Regions from separate parts of the Homo sapiens genome. Here all the other regions are linked to region 5. The links are contacts of gene promoters, found by promoter capture Hi-C in blood cells and fetal thymus (Javierre and others, 2016). All regions are on one chromosome and are shown on one strand. The core of a region is centred on a gene start or on the middle of the fragment in contact, and the rest is flanking DNA. Distances in the headings are between cores, read along the strand shown. Region 1 has its middle 13 kb from the start of CD69. Region 2 has its middle 31 kb from the start of CD69. Region 3 has its middle 3.4 kb from the start of OLR1. Region 4 overlaps OLR1 (oxidized low density lipoprotein receptor 1). Region 5 holds the start of CLEC12A-AS1 (CLEC12A antisense RNA 1). Region 6 has its middle 5.9 kb from the start of GABARAPL1. Region 7 overlaps CLECL1 (C-type lectin like 1).

Region 1 (2,926 bases), core at 307-2,806, 210 kb after region 5:
TAGTTTTATTATTTAAAGCATGACTCTACTGTCTGGTGACCAATTACAAATACGAAAAATGAGTTTATTTCAAGAACCCCTCCTGCCTGTCTTAAAGATCTCTGTTGCAAAAGCTGCAGTGCCATCTAGTGACTGTATGAGATTACTGCACTTCTGTGTTAAGTCATTGTCAAAGGACATTAAAAAATAATTTCTTGCTGGCTATAATTAACAATAATATATTGCACATTTCAAAATCGCGAAGCAAATAAATTTCAAATGTTCTCACAATGAAAAATTATAAGTATTTGATGGTGATTGATATGGTAATTAGCTTGACTGAATCATTCCACATTGTGTACAAATAACACTACATTATACCCCACAAATAGATACAATTATAATTTGTCAATTTACAATAAATTTTTAAAATATATCTTGGTTATTTTTTACACTCAAGTGGCTTGTGTGTGTGTGGATGATGATTCTTGGTTTCTTTTGTGGAAAGATGTGGCAGTCACCACTCTCTCAACACTACATTTTGTATTTTTTCTAGTTATAAAGGAAATGGCATAATCTAGAAAAGTAAAACTTAACCTTTGATAATGCTGCACCCCATTCATATTTCTCAATATTTGTAATGCCAAATTTAAAATGTAATTAAAATAATGCATGTAAAAGTGTTTCGTCTATGCTAAAGAACTACATTACCATAAGTTGACTTGCTTCCAAATTTCTAGGTTCTGAGACCTGAAGTTCACATTATTTTCTCCTTATTTTACATATACTTACCAATAACTTGAAACCAACAAACAAAAATCTGCACATTATAAACTTAAAATTACAGATTTCTAGTTTTCAAAAGACATCATGGACAGAATGACAAGTCGTCACAGAGTGGAAGACATTCTAACACGTATAATTGATAAAGGAATCTGTCTCTCCCCACCCCCATCATCTATCTATCTATCTATCTATCTATCTATCTATCTATCTATCTATCAATCATCTATCTATCTATCTATCATCTATCATGTACCTAGACAACAAATCAATAATACAATGACTGTTGATCTTAAGAAGCTAAGAGAGGCTCTCAGTCCTCAGCCAAGAAGAAAAGGAAACTTCAGCACTATAGTCGAATAAACTGGTTTTGCTAACAACCTGAAGAAGCTTTGTATTACACTTTTTTTGCATTGCTATAAAGAATTCCCTGTCCAGGTGCAGTGTATCATGCCTGTTATCCCAGGACTTTGGGAGGCCGAGGTGGGTGGATCCCTTGAGCTCAGGAGTTCGAGACCAGCCTGGACAACATGATGAAACCCAGTCTCTACTAAAAATACAAAAATTAGCCGGGCATGGTGGCATGTGCCTATCATCCCAGATACATAGGAGTTTGAGGTGGAAGGACCACCTGAGCCTGGGAGGTAGAGGTTGCAGTGGACTGGGATTGCCACTGCACTAGAGCCAGGGCAACAGAGTGAGGATGCTGTAAAAAAGAAGAAAGAAAGAAAAAGAAGGAAGAGAAGGAAGGAAGGAAGGAAGGAAGGAAGGAAGGAAGGAAGGAAGGAAGGAAGGAAAGGAGGGAGGCAGGGAAAAAAGGAGGAAGAAAGGGAGGGAAGGAAGGAAGACCTGAGGATGGGTAATTCATAAAGAAAAGAGGTTTAATTGGTTCATGGTTCTGCAGGCTGCACAGTCATGACTCTAGCACTTGCTCTTGGTGAGGCCTCAGGAACCTTACAATTATGGCAATGCGGAGCCACCATGTGAAGAGAGCCGGGGGGAAAGTGCCACATGCTCTCACCAGATCTTGCCTGAACTCACAGTGAGATCTCATTTATTACCAAGGGGATAGCACTAAGCCATCATGAGGGATCTTCCCCATGATCCAAAGACATCCCCCAAGGCTCCTCTCCAACACTGGGATTACATTTCAACATGAGATTTGGAGAGGACAAACATCCAAACTATTTCAAGCTTAAAAGCAGATTTTTCCCCAGAGCTTCCAGAAAACAACCAGGTCCTCGAATTTGGCCTTATAGGACCCTAAACAGAAAACCAACTGTGCCTGGACTTCTGAGCTATAGAAACCGCAAGATAATCATGTGCCGTTTTAAGCTGCTAAATTTGTGGTAATTTGTTACAGCAGCAATATAAAAAAATAGTATCTTTAAAAATTTTTATTTTCAGTTTGTTTCTGAGAAACAGAAATACAATTGATTCTTTTATATTGAATTTGTATCCAGCTGCCTTATAAACTCCTTTATTACTTCTAATAATTTATCGATAGATTTTCTTGGATTTTCTATAAACAGAATCATATCCATGGTAAATGTGTGCTGTATTTTTCTTTCCAAAGTTTTATAACCTAAAAATCATATTGTATCTGTTAACATCGTGAACAATGATGTTAAGTGGAAATGATAACAGTGAGTACCTTGTCTTGTTCCCAATGTCAAAGGCAAAGTTTTTAATATGCTACCATTAACTGTAATGTTTGTTCTAGCTTTGTTTACTTGTTAGGTTGACTGGTTGTTTTGGGGGGAGATGCTGAGAATAGATATTATTAGATTAAGAATTATTTCTTCTGTGAAATTAATTTTAGTTACTGTGGATTTTAGTTCTAGAGTTTCCATCTTCTCCTTTTTCAAACTTTCCAAGTTTCAGTCCAAATTCTAATATATTCATTTTATTTCCAGGAGTTCATTTTAAATATATTAGTATTTTAAAAATATTTTATGTTGTTACATTTTAAATACTATATAGGTATGTAAATTTAAGAAATGATTTATTTAAAATTTAAATATGTATTGACTTAAATCTGATTTTTTGAAATAATATTTGAACATGCTTACTTTAAAGTCTGTGTGTGATACTGCATTTTCTAGAGCCCTTGGAATTTCTTAACCACTGCCTGTTATTTCTATTTGTAACTTTTAATGTCATC
Region 2 (2,700 bases), core at 147-2,646, 160 kb after region 5:
CTGTGTTACAGGTCAGGTTCCTCAAAAACAGACTCTCAGATGAAGGATTACATAAAGGATGTTAAGTACCTGTGGATGAGAAAGAAAGGATTGGGCAAAGGCAGATATTGAATTGTGATGCAGTAACACAAAGGCTTCAGCTAACAGTATAGGGAGCTCTGGAGGTGAGTGCCCTTTCAAGTTTATCTTGATATAAGGCAACAAGTCCAAGCTTTTATACTCCCACACGAACCAGCCGTTTGATACATCTGGCACTGGGAGAAAGTGTGACTTTGAGAAGGCACTTCTGTTTAGCTGAGAGCCATACAAGGAAGATTCAGTTGAAAGCTTCTGACTCCCAGGTGCTGAGACAATGAGGCTTCAGTCCAAAGTGGAGACACACCATTGCACCCATTGTAAATGGAAAACCAGTTTTTAAATCAAAAGATAAGGAAGACATATATATATATATACACACACACACACACATATATATACATATATACACACATATATGCAGATAGATAGATAGATAGATGGATAGATAGATAGATAGATAGATAGATAGATAGATAGATAGATAAATTTTCCTGATCAGACTCCTTTGCTTAGGGCTAGCAGCATATATCCAAAAGTCCATTAAAATATCCAACTCAATCTCCCACATATTCCAGAAACAAAAGTGATCATTTTGATTCTTTTCTAAATCTAATTTTACCCCCTAATTTCTGACTCATTTGAAAGAATACTGCCCACAGTTTTAGGAATCAAAGCATGAAGGCCATCCTTGACTCTCTGTCTGCATTTTTTTCTGATTAAATGACCCTACCTAATAAATCATAGACTGTAATGACTAGTAATGTCTTTAATTCAACAACTTTCCATCATCTCTACTTCCACTGCATTGGTCTTAAAGGCAGTCATCTCTCTATGGTATCCCTTTATTCCAGTTCATCTTGCACCTGTTAGACTGAGTAACTTCCAAAAATTGCACCTGTTAACTTCCAAAAATTAATATCTAATTGCAATTTGTCCCAAATTTATAAGAATTTATTACTTTCTTTCTGCACTTAGAATAATTCCAGACTATTTAACAGCATTGATTTCACCCTGTAATCTGGCTTTGTCTCTTGTTCCATTCTTCAGTCTCACTGTAGTGGACCATTCTTTCTCCCATCTCTAAGACTTGTACATTTTACCCTTGTCTACAAAGTTGTTGTTGTTGTTGTTTTTCCTCTGCCTTATTCACCTGGAAAACTGTCTCATCTTTCACTTCTCAGATTAAATATTTACATAATTTTATAGAATGCCACCTTGAGAATAAATTCTCCAAGATGTGTTCTACATGCCCTCATAATTACCTGCTTAATTGTCTTGCCAGACATGAGCAGAAACAGTGGAATAAAGACCTACAAAAAGCTATTCCTTCATAAAATCAACAAGAACATTGACAAAAACTGTCAAAACAAACTTCCTCAGAATACTGTGAATTAACCAAAGACTTGCAAAAATCTGGCAAGCATTTACTCAAGAAAATAGGTGAATTTAATTGAAAACAGTGACCTTTGTGGAGATTTAACTTGCTCTATTCCTATTCCGTATTCCTCAGCTTCACAGTAGCCTTGAAAAACTATAGTAGGTCTTACAACTATAGTAGCAGTAGTGAACTGTAGCCCAACAGGTCTCAGAGGGGCCATAAAGGGTTTAGAAGTCCCAAAAATTATTCTTAGAGTACTGTCATTATTCAAACTATCAAACATGATCTTGGAAATTCCCACCTACGACTTTAGTTGATCTCAAACAGAGCTCGCTCAGTGCAAATGACTTTTTCCCTAGGGGTATTTGACAAAAACAATCAGCACCTATTGCTGTACATTGCAGCTGCTTAATATGGAATAACAGCTGGGGCAAAGGAAAAGCTGACCAAAAAACTTAAGAGGGAAACTTAAGGGATGGGCTGCCTATAGTAGTTCATTGAAATGATACAAAATATTGATACAGCTTCAATGAATGGAGGAACACCAGAGTCCTTTGTCTCACGCCAATTTAGATAAGACAACATGGACACACATGGAGTGGTTTTAAGGAACAGAGAGTTTAATAGGCAAGAAAGAAAGAAGAAGCTCCCAGCTACAGAGACGGGGGGTCGGTGAGGGGTGGGGGTGGCTCCAAGCAGAGAGAGGAAACCCCAAGTATGGTGGAAACAATCTGTTATATTAGAAGGCTGGAGGAGGTGGTGTCTGATTTTTATAGGCCCAGGGGATTGGTTTGACTTAGTATGTCATTCACATAGCCTGCAAAAAAACTGGCTCTCCCACCCTAGTCTTTTAATATGCAAATGCAGGCCGCCATGATTTTCTGCACAGTGGAGACCTCTGGGGGTGCCATGATGCTTGGCACATGTGGTGACAAGGAGAAGAAGGTGGGACTTGCCATATTGGATGGACCCAGCTTCTAATAGCCAGCATTTGCATATCAAAGCTTGCTGGCTTGGCCCTTCAAGCCATTTTTTTGCTAAAAAAGAAATGTTTCTGGAGCTGCTTTTATTTAAAGAAAAAAACCTTACCAAGGACCACTTATCCTATCTGCCTGAAATAATTTCTTAATAATTTCTATAATAATATGATCATCAATATCATGAAAATGACCACACTGCCCAAAGCAATCTACTGATTCAATGCAATTCCCATGAAAATATCAACATCATTTTTCACAGAACTA
Region 3 (2,700 bases), core at 1-2,500, 220 kb before region 5:
GACAGTAGAGCACCAAGACCTAAAGCCTAGCCAGGATACCTGGGTTTAAATACTTGGTTTTGTCACTTATGAGCTGTGTGATCTTGGAGCAGGTTATTAGACCTCTATTGGCTCATTTTCATTTTATATAAAATGGGGGTAATAGTAGTAATATTTACTTGATAGCCTTATACAGATTAAATAAGTTAATGTGTGTAAAATGAATATAACAGTCCTGATATTTTTTGTGTTTGCTAAGATTATTTTGATTTTCACTAAAGTTTACCAGTGACCTTTACTTTCAAGATTCTGGATAATTACTGTCCTTTATGCTTCTCTTGTATATTTTTATACCATTCCCTCTCCAGACCACATTTTAGTCTCCTGATATTCTAATTCTTGAATATTTTTCCTTGCTAGCCTGGCCACCTTTTCTCCCAACCACGCCAGCCTTCACCTGCCTAAACAGGTTTGCTGGTTAACATGACTCCCCGCTCGCATTGCACTTTTCTAACACGTAATTGCCATCATCTTTTTGCCCTCCAGCTTCCAAACAGGTTTGAACAAAATAGGTTCTGTTAATGACCTCCTTGTGACTTTCCTTTCTTAGAATTATTACTACCCTTTTTTTTTTTCTCACCAGATTAGTCCCTGGAAAGATAAAAGTTTGTTTTTATCCTAATGAATGAGATTATGCCTTGGGGCAGCTTTAACTCTGAATCCTGTCCCTAACCAAGCCTCCATATAGGGAATGATGAAAGAAGAAAGATAATTCAGACAAGAAGACTGAACGAAGTACACTTTGGACAGGTACAGAAGGGCAGGTAGCTGGGATAGAGGGAAATGGTCTCATTACAATCCTATACAATCTTGTGCAGTTCCATTAAGCTTGTGAATCATTAGCTTATGTCCAGGTAGTTAAGGACTTGGAGTGGAACCAGTAGAGGGTGCATGTACATAGAGTTTTACACCTATGCTTCAGGGAATTGTTATACAACTGGTGTAACAAGTGTAGCCAAACAAATTGCTTACTTCTGGTTCCACTGATCATTCTCCTTTTGACCTTGCCTAAGTCAGGTGGCCAACTATGGATTTCTTTCCTCTCTGTGCCTCAATAAAATAGAGGCCAGGACTCTGAGGCATCAACCTCAAACTATAAGTCAGTGGGTAGGGCCACAGCCCTGATTTCAAAAATAAATAATATAGCAGAAGAAGTTTCATCTTTGCAACCCTTGGGAGATCCCTTGGGAAGTGTTTCTGTCTGATAAGCCAAGATCACAGCATAGGGATTGAGTGACAGCTTCAAAGGCACTGAAATCAGTAAAAAGATTAGAGTTAAAAAAGTTAAACAAGACAGAAGGATTCAGTTTATCATAGAATGTTTTAGGTTGATATGCTGTGTAACACATCACCACAAATTATGTGAGCAGCAAGGTAAAACAATGTACTTTTATTATTTCAAAGTATCTGTGAGTCAGAAGTGTGGGCACAACTTAGTTGGGTCCTCTGCTTGATGTCTCACAAGGCTGCAGTCAAGGTGGCTGCTGGGTTGCACTCTCATCATGCATTCTCAGGTGAGCCTGGGAAGATTCACTTGCAAGCTCCCTCAGGCAGAATTTATTTCTCTATGGCTGCAGGATCCATTTAAGCTTGCTTTTAAAAATCTAGACAGGGAGATAAAGATGGAAATAGGAGAGGGAGAGTGACTTTAGCATAATAGTCACTATACCTTACATAAGCACACGTAGATGATCACATACATTCCAGCACCTCTGCTACACTCCAAGTCATAGGTCTCACTCACACTCAAGGGGAAGGATTACACAAGATCATGAACACCAGGAGGCAGGAATAATGAGAGCCCTCTAAAATTTTTCAAATCTGTCCAGTTATCTGCCACACAAGGACTGTAGAAACTATCCCACTGATCTTTAAAAACAGGATAAACCCAAACGTCCATCAATGGATAAATAAAATGTAGAATGTGGTTTATACATACAATGGAATATTATACAGACTTTAAAAGGAACAAAATTCTGACACATGCTACCACATTGATAATTGTTGAAGACATAATGCTAAATAAAATAATTTAGATACAAAAGGACAAATATTATATGATTCCACCAGTATGAGGTGCCTAAAATAAACCAATTTATAGAAACAAAAAAATGGAACGGTGGTTTCCAAGAAAGGAGAAAGGAATTGGGATTTGTATTAGGTCTGTGCAGAGAAAGAGGATCAATACGCTGTGTACATACATAGAAATAGGTTTATTATAAGGAATTGGCTTGTATGATTATAGAGCCTGGTAATTTAAAATCTGGAGTGTGGGCTGCCAGACTCGGCCAGCGAGTGGAGAACTGGGAGAGTTGATGGCTGAGTTCCAGTCCATAGACAGCTGGGGGATTCTTTCTTATTTGGGGGAAGGTTAGAAGCTTTTTGTTCTTTAGGCCTTCAACTTTTGGATGAGGCCCACCTACATTATGCAGCGAAATCTACTTTCCTCTTCTGATTAATATGTTAATCTCATTTAAAAGCATCCTGTCTGGGAACCCCATGACCCAGTCAAGAAGACACAGAAGGCCAGCACGGTGGCTCACGCTTGTAATCCCAGCACTGTGGGAGGCTGAGGCAGGCGGATCACTTGAGGACAGGAGTTCAAGACCAGCCTGGCCAACATGGTGAAACCCTGTCTCTACTGAAAATACAAAACAATTA
Region 4 (2,811 bases), core at 311-2,810, 200 kb before region 5:
CAGAAAACTGTCATTTAGCTGGCTGCAGAACTCCTTTGCAGAAACTGGGGTTCCAGGAGCCTGGCACCTTTATGTCAACATTTTTGATTCTAGCTACCTGTATTATTTCACCTAGCTTGTCCCAAGCTTCCCTGCCAGCCTGAAGTCCATTTTCCCCTTTTTATTTTAAAATTTGACTCCTCTTCAAGCTTGAAAACCCTCTGAACTCAGTCTTCTTTACCTCATTATCACCTTCCCCTCACACTCCTAAAATTGCATGAAAGACAGAACATGGAGAACTTGCTCAAGTGCAGGCAGAGAGCAAAAAGGGGAAATATGTCTGGGAAAAAGTGCACGTGAAGAAACAAAGAAGGACAGAGGCCATTCCGAAATCAAGAAACTCATGTTCTTAACTTTAAAAAAGGTATCAATCCTTGGTTTTTAAACTGTGGTCCATCTCCAGACTCTACCACTTACGGACAGACAGACAGACAGACACACACACACACACACACACACATTTTGGGACAAGTGGGGAGCCCAAGAAAGTAATTAGTAAGTGAGTGGTCTTTTCTGTAAGCTAATCCACAACCTGTTACCACTTCCTGAATCAGTTATTATTTCTTCATTTTTTTTTCTACCAGAGGACAGATTAATAGATTTAACCCTTCACAACAGTTCTTGTTAGAATCATGGGATGTGTGGCCCAGAGGTAAGAATAGAATTTCTTTCCCTAAAGAACATACCTTTTGTAGATGAACTCTTCTCAACTCTGTTTTGCTATGCTATAATTCCGAAACATACAAGACAAAAAAAATGAAGACACTCAATCTAGAACAAACTAAGCCAGGTATGCAAATATCGCTGAATAGAAACAGATGGAATTAGAAATATATCTTCTATTTTTAGGCTTCTATTTCCTTTCCACCCACTCTTCACAGGCTATTCTACTTTAAAGGAAGCCTTTTTATTTTGCTGCACACAATCTAGCAGGAATCTTTTTTTTTTTTTAAGAGCTGTGTCATCCTTATGTAGGCAAGAGATGTTTGCTTTTGTTAAAAGCTTTATTGAGATATAATTAACATAAAATAAACTGAACATATTTAAAGTGTACTATTTGATAAGTTTTCACACCTTGTGGAGAACATGCATACTACAATTAAGAGAGTGAACATATCCATCATCCCTCAAAGTGTCACAATGCTCCTCCTGATGACTCCTCCCCAGAAAACCACCAATCGGCTTTCATTTTGCATTTTGTAGTTTTATGTGAATGGAATCATATAGTATGTCTTTTTTTTTTGTCTGGCTTCTTTCACTTTGCATAATTATTTTGAGATTCATATGTCTCCATCTTGATGCTCGTATGAATTCATTCTTTTAAATGTTGAATATTCCCTTGTATGGATATACCACAATTCATTTACCCATTTACTTGTTGATGACATTTGGGTTGTTTTAGTTTTGGGATATTACAAATAAAGCTGCTGTGAACATTTGTGTACAAGTCTGTATGAACATAGGATTTCTTTTCTCTTGGTTAAATACTTAGGAGTATAACGTCTGGATCACACAGTAGGTGTATGATTAACTATTTAGGAAACTGACAAACTCTTTTCCAAAGTTGTACCATTTTTCATTCCTACCAGCAGTGTATGAGTGCTCCAGTTCCATCTCATCCATGCCAGAATTTCATATGGTTCGTCTTATAGTTTTAATGATTCTAGTAGATATCGAATGGTATATCCTCATAGTTTTAATCTGTGTATCCTACAAATTTCTGTTTGTTGGTTTGTTTTTGAGACAGAGTTTCGCTCTTGTTGCTCAGGCTGGAGTTCAGTGGCACAATCTCAGCTCACTGCAACCTCCGCCTCCTGGGTTCAAGCAATTCTCCTGCCTCAGCCTCCCAAGTAGCTGGGATTACCGGCGCCCGCTACCACTTCCAGCTAATTTTTGTATTTTTAGCAGAGACGGGGTTTCACCATGTCGGCCAGACTGTTCTCAGACTCCTGACCTCAGGTGATCCACCCACCTCAGCTTCTGAAAGTGCTGGGATTACAGGCGTGAGCCACCGCCCCAGGCAAATTTTTATAAGCTTATTTACCATCTGTATTAGGTAACTTTGATAAAGTAACTGTATAAATCTTTTGAGAATTTTTACTTGGTTTATTTTTCTTACTGTTGAGTTTGAGAACTTTATATATTTGGGATAAAAACCTTTTATCAGATATGCATCTTGAAATGTTTTTCTTGTCTTGTCTTTTTTTTTTTTTTTTTGAGAGGGAGTCTCACTCTGTTGCCCAGGCTGGAGTAGTGCAATCCCAGCTTACTGCAACTTCCGCCTCCCAGGTTCAAGTGATTCTCCTGCCTCAGCCTCCCAAGTAGCTGGGATTACAGGTGCCCACCACCATGCCTGGCTAAGTTTTTGTATTTTTAGTAGAGATGGGGTTTCACCATGTTGGCCAGGCTGGTTTTGAACTCCTGACCTCAAGTGATCTGCCTGCCTTGGCCTCCCGAAGTACTAGGATTACAGGTGTGAGCCACCGCCCAGCCTGTCTTTTCATTCTTTGAACAATATACTCATAAAGCAGAAGTTTTTTATTTTAATGAAGTCCATTTTTATTATTCTGCTGTGGTTTGTAAGAACTCATTGACTAACTCAAGGTCACAAAAATTTTCTCCTTTATTTTTTTCTAGACATTTTATAGCTTCAGGTTTTATACTGAGGTCTATGATTTATTTGGGATTAATTCGACAAATGTAAATTTGTCGAAAAGACTATTTTTCTTTACTAAATTGCTTTTGCACCTTTATCACCAATCAGTTGTCTGT
Region 5 (2,789 bases), core at 5-2,504:
GGTTGAACTTTATTTGTTCTGATAGGTAATCCAATAAAGGTTGTGAAACAAAATTTTGAATAAAGCAGTTTCCATGATAGTTTGATTATTTTTTTTTTTGAGACAGGATCTCCGTCACCCAGGCTGGAAGTGCAGTGGTGTGATCAAGGCTCACTGCAGCCTCAACCTCCCAGGCTCAGGTAATCCTCCCACCTCAGCCTCCTGAGTAGCTGGGACTACAGGTATGCACCATTACACCCAGCTAATATTTGTATTTTTTGTAGAGACAGGGTTTCACCATGTTGCCCAGGCTGGTCTCGAACTCCTGGGCTCAAGTATCTGCCCACCTCAGTTTCTTGCGCCCAGCTGACAGTTTGATTTTTTTTTTTTTTTTTTTTTTTTTTTTATTGATAATTCTTGGGTGTTTCTCACAGAGGGGATTTGGCAGGGTCATGGGACAATAGTGGAGGGAAGGTCAGCAGATAAACAAGTGAACAAAGGTCTCTGGTTTTCCTAGGCAGAGGACCCTGCGGCCTTCCGCAGTGTTTGTGTCCCTGATTACTTGAGATTAGGGATTGGTGATGACTCTTAACGAGCATGCTGCCTTCAAGCATCTGTTTAACAAAGCACATCTTGCACCGCCCTTAATCCATTTAACCCTGAGTGGACACAGCACATGTTTCAGAGAGCACAGGGTTGGGGGTAAGGTCACAGATCAACAGGATCCCAAGGCAGAAGAATCTTTCTTAGTGCAGAACAAAATGAAAAGTCTCCCATGTCTACTTCTTTCTACACAGACACGGCAACCATCCCATTTCTCAATCTTTTCCCCACCTTTCCCGCCTTTCTATTCCACAAAGCCGCCATTGTCATCCTGGCCCGTTCTCAATGAGCTGCTGGGCACACCTCCCAGACGGGGTGGTGGCCGGGCAGAGGGGCTCCTCACTTCCCAGTAGGGGCGGCCGGGCAGAGGCGCCCCTCACCTCCCGGACGGGGCGGCTGGCCGGGCAGGGGGCTGACCCCCCCACCTCCCTCCCGGACGGGGCGGCTGGCCAGGCAGAGGGGCTCCTCACTTCCCAGTAGGGGGCGGCCGGGCAGAGGCGCCCCTCACCTCCCGGACGGGGCGGCTGGCTGGGCGGGGGGGCTGACCCCCCCCACCTCCCTCCCGGACGGGGCGGCTGGCCAGGCGGGGGGCTGACCCCCCCACCTCCCTCCCGGACGGGGCGGCTGGCCAGGCGGGGGGCTGACCCCCCCACCTCCCTCCCGGACGGGGCAGCTGGCTGGGCGGGGGGGCTGACCCCCCATCTCCGTCCCAGACGGGGTGGCTGGCCGGGCTGAGGGGCTCCTCACTTCCCAGTAGGGGGGGGCGGGCAGAGGCGCCCCTCACCTCCTGGACGGGGCGGCTGGCCGGGCAGGGGGCTGACCCCCCCACCTCCCTCCCGGACGGCATGGCTGGCCAGGCGGGGGGCTGACCCCCCACCTCCCTCCCGGATGGGGCGGCTGGCCGGGCGGAGGGCTAACCCCCCCCACCTCCCTCCCGGACGGGGTGGCTGCTGGGCGGAGACGCTCCTCACTTCCCAGATGGGGTGGCTGCCGGGCGGAGAGGCTCCTCACTTCTCAGACGGGGCGGCTGCCGGGCGGAGGGGCTCCTCACTTCTCAGACGGGGTGGTTGCCAGGCAGAGGGTCTCCTCACTTCTCAGACGGGGCGGCCGGGCAGAGACGCTCCTCACCTCCCAGACGGGGTCTCGGCCGGGCAGAGGCGCTCCTCACATCCCAGATGGGGCGGCGGGGCAGAGGCGCTCCCCACATCTCAGACGATGGGCGGCCGGGCAGAGACGCTCCTCACTTCCTAGATGTGATGGCGGCTGGGAAGAGGCGCTCCTCACTTCCTAGATGGGATGGCGGCCGGGCGGAGACGCTCCTCACTTTCCAGACTGGGCAGCCAGGCAGAGGGGCTCCTCACATCCCAGACGATGGGTGGCCAGGCGGAGACACTCCTCACTTCCCAGACGGGGTGGCGGCCGGGCAGAGGCTGCAATCTCGGCACTTTGGGAGGCCAAGGCAGGTTGCTGGGAGGTGTAGGTTGTAGTGAGCCGAGATCACGCCACTGCACTCCAGCCTGGGCACCATTGAGCACTGAGTGAACGAGACTCCGTCTGCAATCCCGGCACCTCGGGAGGCCAAGGCTGGCGGATCACTCGCGGTTAGGGGCTGGAGACCGGCCCGGCCAACACAGCGAAACCCCGTCTCCACCAAAACCAGTCAGGCGTGGTGGTGCGTGCCTGCAATCGCAGGCACTCGGCAGGCTGAGGCAGGAGAATCAGGCAGGGAGGTTGCAGTGAGCCGAGATGGCAGCAGTACAGTCCAGCTTCGGCTCCACATGAGAGGGAGACCGTGGGGAGAGGGAGAGGGAGACGGAGAGGGAGAGGGAGAGGGAGACGGAGAGGGAGAGGGAGAGGGAGACGGAGAGGGAGAGGGAGAGGGAGAGGGAGAGCGCTCACATCCTGTTTTTTTTTTTTTCCTTGAGACAGGGTCTGACAGTTTGATTTTTAAAGGCCAAATCTCTCCAGACTCCAAAGAACTCTGTAGCCAAACAGCAGCACATACTAATCAGGCCTGCCTGTCCTTAGAGCAGCAGCATAGAAGCCTGGAGACATGGACTTCCATCCCATATTCACATTCAACAGCAAAATAAATCCAAATATAAGGCAGTGCTACAATTCAAAGACTGTCTGAGATCAGATGAGATTGGGCATGTTCAGCGTGATACGGGTAGAGATGTTCCCTCACTCCACTGGCCCACAGCCAC
Region 6 (2,700 bases), core at 18-2,517, 250 kb before region 5:
ATATAGCAAACCACCTCAAAGGAATGGCTTAAGATAATAGCATCATCTATTTTGCTCACAAATCTGAAGTAATGGGGCTCAGCTTTGGTTTTAATTAGTGACTGGTGATAGGATCTTCTTGGAAGGCTTCTTCACTAGCAGTTTTGGTAGTTGGACTGGGAAGACTCAAACAATTGGCGCTCCTCAGCCACCTCTTCCTTTCTCTATAGGATCTCACCATGGGTCTCTTCCCATAGTGGCTGCAGGCTAGCTAAACTTCTTTCATGGTACCTATGGGCTCTCTGGGCAAATTTGCCAAAAGAAGTCAGCAGAAAGCACATGGCCTCTTGTAATCTAGTCATTTTAATTTGAAAGGGACACTTCTGCCTCATTCTGTTTCTCAGAGCAGTCACAAAGTTCTGCTCAGATTCAAAGGAAGGTGCCACAGACTCCACTTCTACCTGGAGGAAGTATTGGAGAATCTGAGAATATGCTTCAAAATCACCACTATTGGGCCAGGCGCGGTGGCTCACGCCTGTAACCCCAGCACTTTGGGAGGCCAAGGCGGGCAGATCACCTGAGGTCGGGAGTTTGAGACTAGCCTGACCAACATGGAGAAACCCCGTCTCTACTAAGAATACAAAATTAGCTGGGCGTGGTGGTGCATGCCTGTAATCCAAGCTACTCAGAAGGCTGAGGCAGGAGAATCACTTGAACCCGGGAGGCAGAGGGTGCAGTGAGCCAAGATCGCGGCATTGCACTCCAGCCTGGGCAACAAGAGTGAAACTCCACCTCAAAATAACAAACAAACAAACAAACAAAACATTATTACTCAAACACATTAGTAAATAGTGTTCAGTCTTGTCTTTCCCACTTCTAGGAAAAAGAGAGCTCACTGATGCCAGACTAAATGTAATAAAGCTATATTTCATTGTGTCATTTCTCTTCTTAATATCATTCAGTGGTCAGCATTCTCTGTAATCTTTGGGAGACAGTTCAAATTCTTTACAACGGAAATAGAGTACTTACAATCAGGCTGTTGTTTCTCTCTTGAGGCTCATATATAGCCATTTCCTATCATTGTACTCTATGGTTCAGGCATACTAAATTATTTTCCCTATATTGGTATTGTTTCAGACCACTGGATATTCAAAGCCTCCTTCCTGTGAAAACGTTTTCTCCCTTTTTTTTTCTGACTAGTTTCTATAAAACATTCAGGGTTTAGTTCAGGCATCATCTTCTCTAGGAAACCTTTTGATCTCCTTTGCCTGAGTTCTGTATTCCTTCTAGGCACTTGCAAAGTATTGTGTGCTTATCTTTGCCATAGCACTGATAATGATGCATTGTTCATTAGATAAGATGATGCTGGCTGGGTGTGGTGGCTCACACCTGTAATCCCAGCACTTTGGGAGGCTGAGGTGGGCAGATCACCTGAGGTCAGGAGTTCAAGACCAGTATAGCTAATATGCTGAAACCTTGTTTCTACTAAAAATACAAAAAGTTAGCCAGGCGTAGTGGCTCGCGCCTATAATCCCAGTTACTTGAGAGGCTGAGATAGGATAATTGCTTGAACTGGGAGGTGGAGGTTGCAGTGAGCCGAGATCGTGCCATTGAACTCCAGCTTGGGCAACAAGAGCAAAACTACGTCTCAAACAAACAAACAAACGAACAAAAAACATGATGCCCATTACATGTCCTTTTTTTTTTCGGGTGGGGGGTGCGGGGGGGGATATATGTATGGTTTCAGAAGTAACTACTCTTTTTACATTGACACCGCATGGTTCTAGTGGAACTCACCAATCATAAAATCTCATTGCCTTGGCCATAAGATTAATCAGAATTTTTCCTTAGAATTTCTTACATATGAACTAAAGGAAAGGAGCCCCTTCTTCTTTGATGACGAAGTTTAGATGATGTCTTAGTCCATTCCAGCTGCTATAACAAAATACCATAGACTGGGTGGCTTATAAACAACAGAGATTCATTTCTCACAGTTCAGGAGACTGGGAAGTCCGAGATCAAGGTGCCAGCTGATTAACTATCTGGTGAGGGCCTGCTTCCTCATAGACAGCTGCCTTCTCACTCCAACCTCACATAGCAGAAGGAAAGAAAGAGGGTTCTGTCTCAGGCCTCTTTTATAACGGCACTAATCCATTTATGAGGGTTCCATTCTCATGACTTAATCACCTACCAAAGGCCTCACCTCCTAATAACATCATCTTATGGGTTAGGATTTCAGTGTACAAATTTGGCGAGGAAACACACGTTCAGACCATAGTGGATGCTATGAGATCAGGGGCTGCTATCGTTTTGGTCTCAAGCAGTCACCAGATAAATGAGATAAAGATAACACTCAGAGAGGCAAGTTATATGATAGGGATAGAGAGACATAGAAATATATACAGAGTTTGGGGGAGTTCTAAGGGCATTCAGGTCCCTAGTTTCAGATAGCCCGTTCCAGTAGTGAGAGATAGTTTATTTTCTTATTTTCTGTATATTATGGTGTTTTTACATTAAAAAAAAAATTCTGGCTGGGGAGAGACTGTCTTTACCAGACCTAACCAGTTCTTAGAGATAGCAAGGGCTCAGCTGAGAACCTGCCTTTCATATGCAAACTCACCAATCTAGAGCCATACCTCCTATATCCAACCTGTATATTCCAGGGGGCAACATTTCTCTGCCTTAATCATAGGAGGACCAGTTACCAGGCAACCAGGGACA
Region 7 (2,935 bases), core at 296-2,795, 220 kb after region 5:
ATAGTTATCAAAGGAATCTAGTGTGTGTCCTTTTCTGGTTGTAAAAGCATCTTGTTTCTTATTTTAAACCTTACCTCTCTATTTTACCCAGCAGAGGCTAACTTGCTTTCTTTTCTTCCAGCTTAGGCACTTTCACTTCCTATGAAATAGTGAAACATAATTTGAAAAATAACATGGACTAGAACTGCACTGTCATTCCCCTATGCTTCAAAAATGTCCTGTAGTTAGTTTCTTTTTCTAGAGGTTATTTTACTCAGTTTAAGCAACAAAACCAATATTTTTGATTCCGCATTCCAGGGTTTAATTGCCTTTCTGTCTATGGTTTGAACTTTTATAAATAAAACCTTATTCTTTTCCCAGTTTAGGGATGTGGGGCAACATCTTTTAATGTGATCTAGTTCAATCTTAGAATGCTAAAAATGAGAAAACGAACTATATGAAGATTAAATTACCTACCTATAGTCATGCTTATGACCAGAAGTCAAATATCATATTGTTCTTGTGCTGTATACGTGTGGTGTTAGATAAACGCAACTTTTGTTCTCATGCGTCACTTCGCCATCAAGCGAAAGAGCTGTTGGATAGATTAGATTTTTGTTGTCTTACATACAGAGTCCTACACAATTGTTCCTGATCTCTTCTAACCTCATACCTTTCACTGATTTTGCTCTGGCTATTGGCCTTTTCTTTTCTCCTAAAGGTTGTCATATTCCTTACCATTTCAGAGCCTCATAAAATGCTGAATCTTTCTACATAATCTATTAATCTTTGTGTTTCTAGCACCTCACACCGTACTAAATATAGAGCAGGAAATTAATAGATGCTTGATAAGTAAAATAATTTATAAATGGCTGAATAAATAAATGAATCGCATTAGACGATGAATGTATATATGTATGCTCATTGGTTCTCCAAGATGTAAAGCATAAAGGAATGTCATCAGGAAGCTTAGCAGGACATCAGTGAGAGTGTGTGTTTGAACTGAGAATATCCCAGAAATTTATGCTTTGCTTAAATCTTACTTAGGAGGCCTAAAAGAATGATCAATATCTTTTATGTTAGTCTTTTTATGAAATCTGAAATTTTATTCTACTAAACTTAGGGATCCATAATTTCAGTTCGTCATATTAGTAACATGTGTAGTGGCCAGGCACAATGGCTGACGCCTGTAATCCCAACACTTTGGGATGCCGAGGAAGGAGGATCGCTTGAGCCCATGAGATTGGTACCAGCCTGGACAACACAGAGAGACCTCATGCCTACCAAAAATTTTAAAAACGAGCATGGTGACACGTGCCTGTATTCACAGCTACTCAGGAGGCTGAGGCAGTAAGATTGCTTGAACCTGGGAGGTGGAGGTTGCAGTGAGCAGTGATCATGCCACTGCACTCTAGCCTGGGCAACAGAACAAAAGCCTATCCAAAAAAAAAAGAAAAGAAAAAAAGAAAGAAAAAGAAACGTGTAGTGACATCACCACATTCTTTCTGTGACTGACTTGACTCCCACAATTTTGACTGTTTTGTCTGATGAGTGAAAATATGTGGACTTCTTTTAATGTTTTGAAAATTAACAAATTCCTATTAAAGATGTTTTAATTAATAGCAATAATAATCAGCACATAAAACAATGCACTCAATAATAATCTACCAAATAAACATTCCATTTAGTCTTGATATGATTATATTTCAATATCAGCTATTTTCAGTACTTTCTCAGTGTATTGTGTGTTTAGGTCACATATCTAGTGGAAACAATGTACTGTAACTTTTATGTACCAGAGACTGTTGTTTTAAACTTTCAGCCTAAAGCTAAAAGTACAACTTCTTTTATTTGGTTTATTTATTATCTTTTGAGTACTTCAAATGCAATGAGAAGTGTGGATACCGAAGGCAGCACTAGTCTGGTAGTCAAGAGACCTGAGGTTAGATATCAGCTCTGCTCTCAAGTAACTGTGTGACTGTGAACTTGAATATCCCCATTTTAACACGTGGGTATTGCGTTAAAATAATCTCTAACATTTCTTTTATGTTTAAATGTATGGTTTTATGGAATTACAATGCTATATCACAGGAAATGGATACATTATATAAGAGGAGAAACAGAAAAGATCAGCTCAAATAAATGGGTGTTGTCAATAAGCTTATTAGAGAATCTTGAGGGTTTCACAGTCTTATATAAAAACCCAGAGACACAGACAGTGATCATAAGTAAGATCAATACTGGGGAATATAAACAGTGAAACCAAAAGGAAAAATTCATATTTATTCAAACCAGAGAATACTCGCATATGTGTGTTTTGTGTGGAAAAAAAAAAAGAAGCTGGGTCTACATATTTCGAAGGAAAGTAACTCAGGAACATGATAGGTGAGAAAGTTTATTTGGCCCTCTCCTACCTCTCACCATCTAAGGAGCTACCTGCTGGGTTTACTAGTGAAATCTATTCAATTTTGTAGATTCTCACCACCATGGAATTGTTCTTAACGTTGGATGTGCAATAATATTATCCTTCTGGTAATAGTAATTGTACTGAATATTTTGGGTAAGTAATTAGTAATATTATTTATTCATCTCAGGGTATTATTTTTCTCCTAACTTGTTGTAACTGTGTTTGCTATTTAAATGGTTCCTAAACAATATGGTACAACTTCACAAAAAGTGTAAAATTTGATACACAACTAAAATTAGAGATTTTCTATAGAATTTCACCATGTGATAAAATATACATTATAAATTCATCTCAATGATAAAGAAAAGAGATGGCAAGATTAGTTGCTTATTTTATGATCAAGATCATGCAGTGAATTGCCTGGTGCAGTTTGATGTTGGGATATACACAGATGTCTCTGAAACCATGTTCAGAAGGAAGCAAATTAAATTATGACTTGTGTTTCTGTGTATGCTTATTCATATCTGCTACTCCTAAGTATCATCAATC

The links. The method cuts DNA at HindIII sites, captures the fragments that hold promoters and counts their contacts. A CHiCAGO score of 5 or more calls a contact.
Region 1: a contact is called between a fragment that was not itself captured here and the fragment with the promoter of CLEC12A-AS1 in region 5, in 3 of 17 cell types (neutrophils, monocytes and activated CD4 T cells). The highest score is 9.6, in neutrophils.
Region 2: a fragment that was not itself captured here is called in contact with the fragment with the promoter of CLEC12A-AS1 in region 5 in 1 of 17 cell types (neutrophils); the score reaches 6.5 in neutrophils.
Region 3: a contact is called between a fragment that was not itself captured here and the fragment with the promoter of CLEC12A-AS1 in region 5, in 2 of 17 cell types (monocytes and neutrophils). The highest score is 6.1, in monocytes.
Region 4: a fragment that was not itself captured here is called in contact with the fragment with the promoter of CLEC12A-AS1 in region 5 in 1 of 17 cell types (neutrophils); the score reaches 5.3 in neutrophils.
Region 6: a contact is called between a fragment that was not itself captured here and the fragment with the promoter of CLEC12A-AS1 in region 5, in 2 of 17 cell types (neutrophils and monocytes). The highest score is 8.1, in neutrophils.
Region 7: a fragment that was not itself captured here is called in contact with the fragment with the promoter of CLEC12A-AS1 in region 5 in 2 of 17 cell types (neutrophils and monocytes); the score reaches 8.2 in neutrophils.

The regions. Positions count from the first base shown.
Region 1 is chr12:9,746,051-9,748,976 of GRCh38, reverse strand. No RefSeq gene overlaps it. Among named protein-coding and RNA genes, the nearest start is that of CD69, 13 kb to the left of the region's middle. The HindIII fragment of the contact is 804 bases long and covers 1,155-1,958 here.
Region 2 is chr12:9,790,192-9,792,891 of GRCh38, reverse strand. No RefSeq gene overlaps it. Among named protein-coding and RNA genes, the nearest start is that of CD69, 31 kb to the right of the region's middle. The HindIII fragment of the contact is 2,133 bases long and covers 330-2,462 here.
Region 3 is chr12:10,174,225-10,176,924 of GRCh38, reverse strand. It overlaps a transcript of OLR1 not described here and a transcript of TMEM52B not described here. Among named protein-coding and RNA genes, the nearest start is that of OLR1, 3.4 kb to the right of the region's middle. The HindIII fragment of the contact is 761 bases long and covers 870-1,630 here.
Region 4 is chr12:10,156,976-10,159,786 of GRCh38, reverse strand. It overlaps OLR1 (oxidized low density lipoprotein receptor 1), which reads left to right. Exons shown (of 6, transcript NM_002543.4): 6 at 1-1,486. Among named protein-coding and RNA genes, the nearest start is that of OLR1, 14 kb to the left of the region's middle. The HindIII fragment of the contact is 1,033 bases long and covers 1,044-2,076 here.
Region 5 is chr12:9,951,802-9,954,590 of GRCh38, reverse strand. CLEC12A-AS1 (CLEC12A antisense RNA 1) reads left to right here and starts at 1,254. Exons shown (of 3, transcript NR_135047.1): 1 at 1,254-2,041; 2 at 2,512-2,789. It overlaps LOC124902874 (a long non-coding RNA gene), which reads right to left. Exons shown (of 2, transcript XR_007063207.1): 1 at 1,554-2,789. It also overlaps a transcript of CLEC12A not described here. The HindIII fragment of the contact is 17,088 bases long and covers 1-2,789 here.
Region 6 is chr12:10,205,651-10,208,350 of GRCh38, reverse strand. No RefSeq gene overlaps it. Among named protein-coding and RNA genes, the nearest start is that of GABARAPL1, 5.9 kb to the left of the region's middle. The HindIII fragment of the contact is 3,050 bases long and covers 1-2,700 here.
Region 7 is chr12:9,729,195-9,732,129 of GRCh38, reverse strand. The region is part of intron 1 of CLECL1 (C-type lectin like 1); the gene reads left to right. Among named protein-coding and RNA genes, the nearest start is that of CLECL1, 2.4 kb to the left of the region's middle. RefSeq lists a silencer at 1,241-1,300. The HindIII fragment of the contact is 1,192 bases long and covers 950-2,141 here.